Regions from separate parts of the Homo sapiens genome. Here region 1 is linked to region 2. The links are contacts of gene promoters, found by promoter capture Hi-C in blood cells and fetal thymus (Javierre and others, 2016). All regions are on one chromosome and are shown on one strand. Each heading gives the region's core, a stretch centred on a gene start or on the middle of the fragment in contact. The rest is flanking DNA. Distances are from core to core; before and after follow the strand shown.

Region 1 (5,667 bases), core at 1,840-4,339, 670 kb before region 2:
CGTGGGAGGCTGAGACAGAAGAATGGTTGAATGCCAGAGCGGGAGGTTGTGGTGAGCCGAGATCATGCCACTGCACTCCAGCCTGGGCAACAGAACAAGACTCCGTCTCAAAACAAACAAACAAAAAACAAAACAAAACAAAACAAAAACTTACTAAGACAGTTGTAGATAAAGGCAGATTTATTAGAAAAAGTAGGAAAATACATTGCAAGAAGGCAGAAGAGAAGCTGACTGCCAGGAAACAAAAGGTTGTTGGAGATTTTATAGAATTAGTGTTATGCTATCTGTTGAGGAGGTTTTTGTGCAGTATCAAACGCCAAGGGTACAGTGAGCTAACTTGCCAAGGGTACAGTGAGCTAACTTGCAGGAGTCTGGTGATAGTCGGGCACAGGAAGATTGTGAATTATTTGCACAGGAGAGCTATATGTCCTAGACATGAAGAAAGGCAGACTCACAGCTTATCTAATTTCTCTTTTTGCTTTCCCTTGCTCCCACCGACCAGATTCCCTTTCCCTAATTAGCACTTCCCACCTAGCACTTAGTAGGTGCTCAATAAGCATTTGTTTTTTTGTTTTGTTTTGTTTTGTTTTGTTTTTTTGAGACAGAGTCTCGCTCTATTGCCCAAGCTGGAGTGCCGTGGCGTGATCTCGGCTCACTGCAAGCTCCGCCTCCTGGGTTCACACCATTCTTCTGCTTCAGCCTCCCCAGTAGCTGGGACTACAGGCACCCGCCACCACGCCCAGCTAATTTTTTGTATTTTTAGTAGAGACAGGGTTTCACCATGTTAGCCAGGATGGTCTCGATCTCCTGACCTTGTGATCTGCCTGCTTCGGCCTCCCAAAGTGCTGGGATTATAGGTGTGAGCCACGGCGCCCAGCCCAATAATTCCACCAGAGGACAGGTCTGTGGGAGTGGGGCCCTTTATCGATTTGTTTATGGTTTTATCCCCAGTGCCTGGAGTACAGGAAGATTAAAAAATTTATTTCACTTTGCTGAGAAGAGGTGGAGCCAGGATTCAAATGCTGGTCTATTTGACTCCAAAGTTCACAGCTGGGCCACAGCACACCCAGGGGAAAAAGTCAAGTGCATTTGGGGATAAAGAAAGGTTGGTGACAAAACTGGAACAGGGATTAGAGTATTTTCCCCAAATCCCCAGTCTTTTCTTTCCCATTCTGCTAGCTGATTCAGCCAGGGGAGGGGAGATGTCAATTTCTCCCTCCCAGAAGGCTTTGCAGAGCTGCTGAAGTGCTTTCTTGTAGGCTGAGAGGCGGCCCCCCATCCGGCCCCATATTATCATTCCATCTTGACCTCAGAGGAAAGAAAGGGAAACCAGCTCTGCTGAGCACCCTTTCCACTCCCTCACCCCCAGGCCGTTATCTTGCTGAATCTGCACTATCTATCATGAGAGAAGTATATTTTGAGCCTGATCTTACAAAAGAGGAAACAGCTCAGAGACCTTAGGTAACTAGCCCTAAGTCACACAGCTAGTAAGTGGACGGGTTGAAATTTAACTTGGAGACTTGAACCCCAAATTCATCTTTTTTCTGTTACACCACACCTATCTCTGAAACTTACTGGCTGTCTCCTCAAAGGACATCCCTCTCCAAAGGGCTGGCTCCAGCTGGGAAACCGGCCTAAGGGTGCCCTGGGTCAGAGGGCCGACCTGTGGTTTTGGGGGCAACTCCTCCTGGCATCCGAGGCTCTTTAAAACAATCTGCAGCCACACTGTCTCCCAGCTCCGTCTCCCACAGGGCTGTTTGCCCTCTTCTCGCTCCCTCGGGCCTCTTCATGCTTATTTTGTGTTCCAAGACTTTGTCAGCATGCCCCACTTCCTCCCCCCCAACCCCAAGAGTGCCTCTTCCCTCTGTCCACCCAAGCCTGACCCTTGCTTCAGGGTCTAGTCCCTAGAAAGTCCCCCACCTTTACCTCCTCCCTACGCTGGAGTCTCTGGTCTCGCCCTCATCACTGTATCCCCATTCTGTTCCCCGGTCTCACCCTCATCACTGCATCCCCATTCTGTTCCCCCGCCACCCTGCACTCTCCCACCCCTGTCATGCCTGAGCACGCTGTCCTCTCCTGTGGCTCAGAGCAGGTCATCTCCCTGCTTTTCGTTAACAGTGATGTAACAGCCCTTGCTTAACGGAGGGCTCCTCACGTGCCAGCTACTGCATACTAAGCACTTTAAACGTATTAACTCATTTCCTCCCCTCCCCACAAAAACTTAAGAAGTCGGTGCCATTATATATCACCTATTTTACCAAATGGGGAAACTAAAGCACAGAGAGGTTAAGTAACTTGCCCAAGGTCACAGAGCTGCTGACAACTTCTTTATTGCCTCCAGGCTGAACATAAACTCCAAGAAAGTCCCATGAGGCTCTTTGGATCTCTTTTGCCCCTGTTGTTTGCAGGAACCCATCTCCCACCACTCTCCCCCACCCACACTGCAAGCGGCAGCCGCCTGAGCTATATTTAGATCCCAGAAGCCACCAAGCTCCCTCCGCACTCCCCGCCCTTGTGCATGCTGTTCCCTCTGCCTGGTCCCGGCTCTGTGAGGTGTGAGGTCTCCCCGTTAGCCCTAGTTTTCTTTCTGCCTCCTGGGAACCGTGTCCACCACCTCTCCACTTTGATCAATTATTTCCTTGCCGTTGTCTGTCGGCCTGTCAGCCTACCCCCACCCGACCGAGAACGCCTTGACGGTAGTGAAATGGTCTTGCCAATAGACTCCAGAGCAGGCTCCGCCACGATGTCAGCGCCAGGAAATGTTGGTGAATGAATGAATGAAGGCTTTCTGCTGCGAATCAGGCCCACTCTCCACAAACAGACCTGAGGAGAGGGGCCCAGGCCCGGCCCCCAGCGCTTCTGCAGCGGGAAAGCTGCGTCCAGAGAAGGCTGGGAGGTTGCTCCCAGGCCGGCTGAGGAGAGACCCTCGGAGCCTTCAACGCAGCCAGGCGGCAAGTGGGGGCAGGGCGTGGGCGCGGACACACCCCCCGCAGTGCCCCCGGCGCCCGGCAGGGGGCGCCGCCCCGCCGGCCCACGCCCCGCCGCGCGCCGGGCAGGCCCCCTCGCGCAGGCGCGCTGCCGCGGGCGGAGGATCCGGGCCGCGCTTCCTCTCGCCAGGCCTGCGAGCTTCCTCCCAGCGGAGCCCTGGGCGAGCCGAGGTTGGCCGCCGCCGCCGCCGAGCCCGCTGCCGCCCTCCCGCTCCTGCCCCACCCGCGCCTTGCCCGGGGGCTTCTGCCGGGGTGGGGTCCGAGCCGGGCGACCGCCCGGCTGCGCCGCCGTCGGGGCCGTAACCCGGCCCGCCGTCCCTCCCGCCCCAGCCAGCCTCTGGCCGCCGGAGCCCGCGGGGCGTGGAGCGCGAGGAGCCCCGCGGCCCCGATCGAGCGTCCGGGGCGGCCCCCGGCAGCCAGCGCGACGTTCCAAAATCGAACCTCAGTGGCGGCGCTCGGAAGCGGAACTCTGCCGGGGCCGCGCCGGCTACATTGTTTCCTCCCCCCGACTCCCTCCCGCCCCCTTCCCCCGCCTTTCTTCCCTCCGCGACCCGGGCCGTGCGTCCGTCCCCCTGCCTCTGCCTGGCGGTCCCTCCTCCCCTCTCCTTGCACCCATACCTCTTTGTACCGCACCCCCTGGGGACCCCTGCGCCCCTCCCCTCCCCCCTGACCGCATGGACCGTCCCGCAGGCCGCTGATGCCGCCCGCGGCGAGGTGGCCCGGACCGCAGTGCCCCAAGAGAGGTGAGTGCCTGGCCGTCCCGGAGTGTCCCCTGGAGGGAAGAGGGTGGAGGTCGCGCGTCTAGTCTCTGTTGCTGCCACTGTCGCGTCCACTCCCATTCCCCTCTTCTCCCACTTCTCCCTTCTCTCCTTTACTCCCTTGCACGGGTTCGAATTCTCCCAGGAGCCACTGTCAGAACCCAAATTGGAAGGGAGTGCATGAGGGAGGTACTGCCCTGCAGCTCCACGGACTCGTCTTCTCGGGTCATCCCGAGTCCCCCCCTCTGTGGAGCTCAGAGTAGGAGGTGGCTGGAGTCTGGAGGAAGAGGATCCGTATGGGCCAGGTCCCTAGAGAGAGTGCTGGACTCCCCTGCCCTTCCCTGTACAGGGCCTCCCCGCAGGTGCCCTGGCTTGCTTGGTTCTGACCCCTCCCTCATTACCCCACCATGACCCTGCGGGCTGCAAGCAAGCCCAGGGCCCAGCCACCTCGGGTGAGCAGTTAGAAGCCCAGGTCCTAGGACTGAGCCTGTCACCCTTGGCCTCTCAGAAGACCAGGCCTAAGCCAAGGGATCTTTGGGTGGGAAACTGGGCAGGCCTTCTGCCCGGGGGGAGGTAACGGAGCATTAGCACCATGCCCCCACCTTCTGGCACCCTGGGCAGCCCATTCTCCTAGGCTCTTTGTGGCCCAGACCAGGTGTCAGGAAGGGGTGTGTCCAGCCAGCAGATTTTTTGGAGCTTAACTACCAGTTCACTTCCCCGCCCATTTTGTACACCCGGGAACCGAGGCTCAAAGGGAGAAGTTGCTACCCCAGGCCTCTAGTGGAGTTAGGCTGGCTGTCCTTTCATCCCCAGCTATACAGGGCTGGATGGCTGTGGGTGGAAGGAAACCAGGCAGGCACCTTCACCCACTGGGGACACAGGCCCCCAGCCCGGCCCCAGAGGGACCTTGTTGGTTGAGCACGTGCTTCCCTGCAGAGGGCTGGAGGGAGTGAAAGGGCTTCCGGCTCCAGCTGTGGCTGGGTCAGCTAGCAGGAGATGTGGGGAATGTGTGGTGTATGGCCATCTGTGTGGTGTGGCAGGAAGGTCCGGTCCTGGCCCCGGCTCTGAGTTGAAACAACCTGGTGGTCAGTCCTGACCCAGCACTCGCCACACCTATGGCCCAGCTGGCACAGGAGCAGCCAAGTTCAGGATATAAATGGGGTCACATGGGAACCGTGGAAGCTCTGTCTCCACTGGCAGCAGGCTACAGACTGGGGACATGGGAGCATTGTGAGAGTGGGGACACCCAGGGGGCCTGTTTCAAGCTCCTAGTACCCTGGCGGTTCCAGTGTCTTTCTTGGTTGTGGCCACAGCAGGAACAGGGCAAGGACAGCAGGGGTGAGGTTGAGGCCTGGCAGGATCCTCTGGCCCAGGAGAGCAGGCATTGCCCTGGTGGGTGCTGAGCAGTGTCTGGGCTCCCTTGGAGCTGCTGGCAGTTTTGTCCTGCTGGGTCCCTGCTCACGATTTAGGGTTTTTTTGTTTTTTCACTTTTTTTTCTGGCTGTCCTGACATGCACAGTGGAGGGGACCCAGATGTCCTGGGCCTGTGAGACTCCCCTCACATGGCCCCACACCCAGCCCTAACTTCCTTTCCAGCCTGAGGGACTGGGGCTGGAGCCTGACATGGTTAGCTCCCTCCCACCCCAGTCAGCCTTTTTAATTTTTATTTTATTTTATTTTATTTTTTTACCAACTGTGAGCTGTGAAGGTGTGATCCAGGGTCCCAGGGCCTTTGAAGAAAGGAGTCTGGCTTCTGGCTGGCACGTGTGCAGGGATGTGCTTTTCATTGGTGAGCTTGGTGCCCTCCACCCTCTCAGAAGCAGCTGCTCTTCTCTCTGCATTGGGTCAGGGGCAAGGAAAAAGCAGAAAATGTTCCCATTCACCACCGCAGGGGGGCCAGACCCCAAAAGGCTGAGCCACACA
Region 2 (5,615 bases), core at 21-2,520:
CTTATATTTTAGTGAAAGATGACACAATAGACAAAGTATAATATTTAGAATAGTAGGCAGTGACAGGTATCAAGAACAAAAGGCAAGGAAGAGTTTTTGAAATTGTAGATAAGAATGGTCAGATAATACCTACTGATAAGGTAACTTCTGAGTAAAGGAAGTGAGGGAGCTAGTCATGCAGAAATTAGTGGAGGAAGCCTTCTAGGCAGAGGGGACAGCAACCGCAAAGACCCTCATGTCTTTGTGAGGGCTCACATGTGCTTGACATGTTCCAAAACAGCATGAAGGCTGGGTAGCTGAAGAAAAACGAAAGAAGGACTAGTCAGAAATGTAGTCAGAGAGGTACTAGGATAAGGGTGGCAGGCAGAGGGTACATCAGATTTGTTCTTACAGGTGTTTTTTTATTTTTTGACACAGGGTCTCATTTTGTCGTCAAGGCTGGGGTGCAGTGGCACAGTCATGGCTCACTGCAGCCTCAAGCTCCTGAGCTCAAGCAATCCTCCTGCCTCAGCCTCTCAAGTAACTGGGACTACAGGCACGCGCCAGCATGCTTGGCTAATTTTTAATTTTTTTATAGAGACAGGGTCTTGTTATGATGCCCAAGCTGGTCTCAAACTCCTGGACTCAAACGATCCTCCCACTTGAGCTCCCAAAATGGTGAAATTACAGACATATCCTTTTTTTTTTCTTTTGAGACAGTCTCGCTCTGTCGCCCAGGCTAGAGTGCAGTGGCACGATCTTGGCTCACTGCAAGCTCCACCTCCCGGGTTCACACCATTCTCCTGCCTCAACCTCCCGAGTAGCTGGGACTACAGGTGCGTGTGCCACCATGCCCGGCTAACTCTTTTGTATTTTTTTTAGTGGAGACCATGTTAGCCAGGATGGTCTCAATCTCCTGACCTCGTGATCCGCCTGCCTCAGCCTCCCAAAGTGCTGGTATTACAGGCATGGGCCACCGCGCCCAGCTCATTACAGACATATCTAAATAAGGACTCAGGTTTAATACTCAGACTGAAATGGAAAGCCACTGGATGGTTTTAAGCAGAGAAGTGACACGGTATGACTTAGGTTTCAAAAGAATCACTTGGGTTGCTATGTTGAGAACACATTTAAGAGCCGCAGTAACAAAACAAGGAGAATAGAATCCAAGCTAGAGATGCACAGGCACTGACTAGGGCAGTGGAGATGCAGATCCTAAGTGGTCTAATTCTGGATAGTATTTTGAATATAAAGCAGTAAAATTTACTGATGGACCACATATGAAAAAGACACAGAAGAGTCAACAATGTCTCTTAGTTATCCAAGAGGAGACATCGAGTGGAGACCTTGAGTGGGCCACTAAACATATTAGTCTATGGTAGAGGGAGAGATCCCCGTTAGAGTCATCAGCATTGTTTGGATTTTAGAAAGGTAATATGGTACATATACTGTATCATCTCTCTCTCCCAGCTAGGGCTGAGTAGCTCCCCATAATCAAGCAGTCACATTTCTGCATCATGCAGGATAGCCCAGGTCAGGCTGTACCCCAAAACTAGTTGTGGAACTAGACTTACCAAAAAACAAAAACTCTTGCATTTCAGAACTGCAAATAAAGGATGTGGACCTGCATATCCTCCAATAGCCCATATGTCAGCAAGCCTAGCCCTGGAGGACACCAAGAAGACTCATGAAGGGTCCACTGTCATGCTGAGAAATATGGGTAACATACAAGCATACAAGACAAAAAGTGGGTAGGGAAAACAAAAGCAAAAGGGGCAAATAAGAAATACATCAGGTAGAAATTGCCACCCATGACCGGGCACGGTGACTCACGTCTTAATCCTAGCACTTTTGAGAGGCTGAGGCAGAAGGACCTCTTGAGCCCAGGAGTTCGAGACCAGCCTGGGCAACACAGCAGGACTTCACCTCTATAAAAATATAAAAAAAATTAGCCAGGTGCGTGGTGGCACACACCTGTAGTCCCAGCTACATGGGAGGCTAAGGTAGGAGGGTCGCTTAAGTCCAGAAGATCAACACTGCAGTGAGCTGTGATCATGCCACTGCACTCCAGCCTGGTGACAGAGCGAGACTTCGTCTAAAAAAAAAAAAAAAAAGACATGAGAAAAAAAGACATTATGCGGCCGGGTGCAGTGGATCATGCCTGTAATCCCAGTACTTTGGGAGGCTGAGGCGGGCGGATCACGAGGTCAGGAGTCTGCGACCAACCTGATCAACATGGTGAAACCCTGCCTCTACCAAAAGTACAAAACTTAGCCAGGCGTGTGGTGGCGCCCCAGCTTCTTCTTCGTGGAGGCTGAGGCAGGACAATCGCTAGAACCCGGGAGGCGGAAGTTGCAGTGAGCTGAGATTGCACCACTGCACTCCAGCCTGGGAGACAGAGCAGGACTCCATCTCAAAAAAAAAAAAAAGTCTAGTGCCTAACACAGTATCTGTGACACAGTAAGTGCTCAATAAATATCAGCTTTTATTTTTCAAGGGGCGAGGAAGGTGTATTTTGAAAAAGCATATACTATTTATTTTTTTAAAGGCCTACAGAAAGTAAAGCTTAACAAACTCTTGGCTGGTGGATTGCCCAGAAAAGAGAGAAAGCCATGAAAAGCACTATGCTAAACTACTGAATGCCAGGGATATAACCTCTTAATTCCAGTTAAAATTCCCAGGTACTAACATCTGCCATGCACAGCTCTCCAGTGTCTTGTCTGCTCCCACTGAAGATGTAAAAAGAATTATACTTCACCAGGAATCTTGTCAAATTACTACACACCTCCTTCCTTAAAAAAGAAAAAAAGTCTTTCTCTGTATGTAAATTATTAAAACCCTCTTAATTACGAAGTGCCAATCTTTCTAAGCTATTTATCTCTGAACAAAATTATAGTATATAAAATAATTATCTGGAGATTATGAAGCATTTATGAAAATGTTCCTAATACAGCAAAACCAGGTTCTTACTTGAATCCTTATAGACTCTTCTGTGTTCCCCAGTATACAGCACTGCAAATCATGGGAACTATATATGTAGCCCAAATTTTCCTCAATGGTCAATCGTTCTCCACTATCTCTCTCAGTTTATGGCATCAGAAAAAACCACCTGGATTTTTTGTCTCCCCACCAATTCTATTACAGCCATCATTTGCTAAACTAAAATGCTATTGCTTTTGCAACTTCCTTAGCAGAGAAGGTAGGACCCACCTACCCTTTTCACATAAATATAGCACAGGGTACCACTCAGGCCCTACTAACCAAAGCACAAATCTAGAATTTCACTTCAGATAATTAACCAGAGGCTCATTTAGACATTACTGCATAAATAAACATTGGTTCCATGTTTATTTTTCTCATGAAAAATGTGAAAAACATTGAAATAATTTCTCTCAATAGGAAAAGATAATGTATCAAGTGAAAGCAAAAACCTCATCTAATGTGGTTCTGCTATCTAAATCTGAAATGCCCTAAGGCAACTCTCCAATACAGGCTGGAGGGCAACGCTACAGAAGTCACATACAGAAGGCTACCCTGATCCACAATTCCACCCTCCTCTGAAATAAAAAGGGCAACAACACTGTACTATGTAGAGTATAAATAGAAAGTGGTCTAGATGGTCTAACATAAGTACATAAAATAAAAAAGAAAAGACTTTTCACCTATAGTTACCTAAATAGCAAATTCTTTAGGAAACCAAGTTTTTTTGGTTGTTTTTTGAGGCGGAGTTTTGCTCCTGTCGCCCAGGCTACAGTGCAATGGCACCATCTCGGCTCACTGCACCCTCGCCTCCCGGGTTCAAGTGATTCTCCTGCCTCAGCCTCCCCAGTAGCTGGGATTACAGGCGCTTGCCACCACGCCCAGCTTTTTTTTGTATTTTTAGTAGAAACAGGGTTTCGCCATGTAAGCCTGGCTGGTCTCGAACTCCTGACCTCAAGTGATCCACCTGCCTCGGCCTCCCAAAGTGCTAGGATTACAGGCATGAGCCACCGCGCCCGTCCAGGAAACTAAGTTTATATAGCAGAACCATGTGCACAATGAAAGCATTCAAAAATACAACTGTCAGAGATATCGGAGTATTTTATTCAAAGTCTGAGTTCTTAAAAAAAAAAAACAAACCCTACTTTATAAACAGACCAGTTTTGAGATTAAAATGTAAATCCAAACTTTCCTGTTATAAATCTCAGCCTTGTAAAGAGGAGGAGCTTCCACTGCCTTTTCAAGGCTAACTTCGTTTAAAGTCCTAACGCACCGAAACAGACGCCAAGTCTACTACCCACCACCCATTGGCTCAAAGGAAGCCCCGCCCCGTACAGCCACGGTAACTGAACATCAAGGGAACCCCAGGGAAGGTTTTCCCTCCGCCACATTTCTAGTCTCTGATGACTCCCTGCCCCTCCCCTACCATCACCACCGCGGATCTAGGGTTCCAGCACCAGCCACGCACGCTCCTACAAGAGGACCTTGGGCACTTCGCCCCAATAGTTACAACCAAGAGGGGAGTGGGGGTGACCATGCTCCCACTCTCCTGGCTGCACGGTGCCAGACACGCTGCATGGAGCAAAGCGGAGAAAGCAGCTCCGGCACAGGGCCCTTGTGCCCCCAGGCAGAAGGCATGACCCAGCCACAAGAGTAAGTCCTGACACCTCCACAGCTCCCAGTCGGCGGGTGCCCCTCCCTCCCCACGGAGACATAGGGCGGGGCAGATCTAGGCGCCGAGACTCCCAGCCAGACCCGACAGCGGGCTTTCCCTAGCACCTCCTCATTGCCAAGGAGGCGGAAACCCGGGGCCTGGGCGGGGTGCAGGGGGGGACGGCCAAGGGGAGTGGCATCACGGATCAGTACGGCCCCTCCGGCCAACCGGATCCCAAGAAGGCGGAGGAACTCAGACTTCACGCCCCCTCCCTGCCGCGCCCTGAATCTACACGCGGGAGACCCCCCCCTACCCCTCCCCGACCCCAGCAGGCCAGAGCGCGGCCGCCAGCCCGAGGCCCCGCCCACCCCAGGAGGAGGGGAGGGGGTGGTCGGCCGCAAACTGCACTCAGCGCGAAGCCGGCCCCGCCCCTTTCTCCACAATCGCACGCGCGCGCCGGCCCCGCCTCTGAGCGGCGGCGCGAGAGCCCGCCCCCCTCCGCGCGCACCGGGACTACGCTCTCCTCCCCCTCCCGCGCGGAGAGCTACCCCGCTCCGCCCCCCACCCCCCTCACACAACCACACACCTCCCGCCCGTCTGCTCTACGGGAAGCCGAGGAGGTCAGCCCCCCCCCCCCAAAATACACACCCTCGAGTCCGGCGTTACCCGCCACCAGGCTCCCGCCCGGCCCCCGGCCCAGCGTGCTCTCACCGCAAAGCTGCTTCGGCCGCTCGTCACTGCGTGTCCCTCTCAGCGTGAGCCGCGAGCTCAGCAGGGAGGCCCCGAGAACGGCGCGGGGCACAGGCCCGCCGAAGCGGACTGCCAGCTACCTCTCCACTAACGAAGCGGTCACAGGCTCCGGTGCCCAGACTGGGAAGGAGGGAGGGAGGGAGGGAGGGAAACTCCGAGGGGGGAAGGGGAGGGGGGAAGATGGAGAAACCGTCTCCGCCGCCTCTACCGCCGCGGCCGCTTCTCTGTTACCCGGGAAATCCCGCCCACTCCC

The links. The method cuts DNA at HindIII sites, captures the fragments that hold promoters and counts their contacts. A CHiCAGO score of 5 or more calls a contact.
Region 1: the fragment with the promoter of CSK here is called in contact with a fragment that was not itself captured in region 2 in 3 of 17 cell types (neutrophils, non-activated CD4 T cells and activated CD4 T cells); the score reaches 6.8 in neutrophils.

The regions. Positions count from the first base shown.
Region 1 is chr15:74,778,991-74,784,657 of GRCh38, forward strand. CSK (C-terminal Src kinase) reads left to right here and starts at 3,090. Exons shown (of 13, transcript NM_004383.3): 1 at 3,090-3,730. RefSeq lists enhancers at 2,540-2,659, 2,680-2,749, 3,792-4,367, 5,250-5,379, 5,390-5,449 and silencers at 2,970-3,189, 3,300-3,559. The HindIII fragment of the contact is 10,374 bases long and covers 1-5,667 here.
Region 2 is chr15:75,446,100-75,451,714 of GRCh38, forward strand. SIN3A (SIN3 transcription regulator family member A) reads right to left here and starts at 5,591. Exons shown (of 21, transcript NM_001145358.2): 1 at 5,324-5,591. RefSeq lists enhancers at 4,009-4,928, 4,356-4,485 and silencers at 4,736-5,235, 5,456-5,555. The HindIII fragment of the contact is 2,544 bases long and covers 1-2,542 here.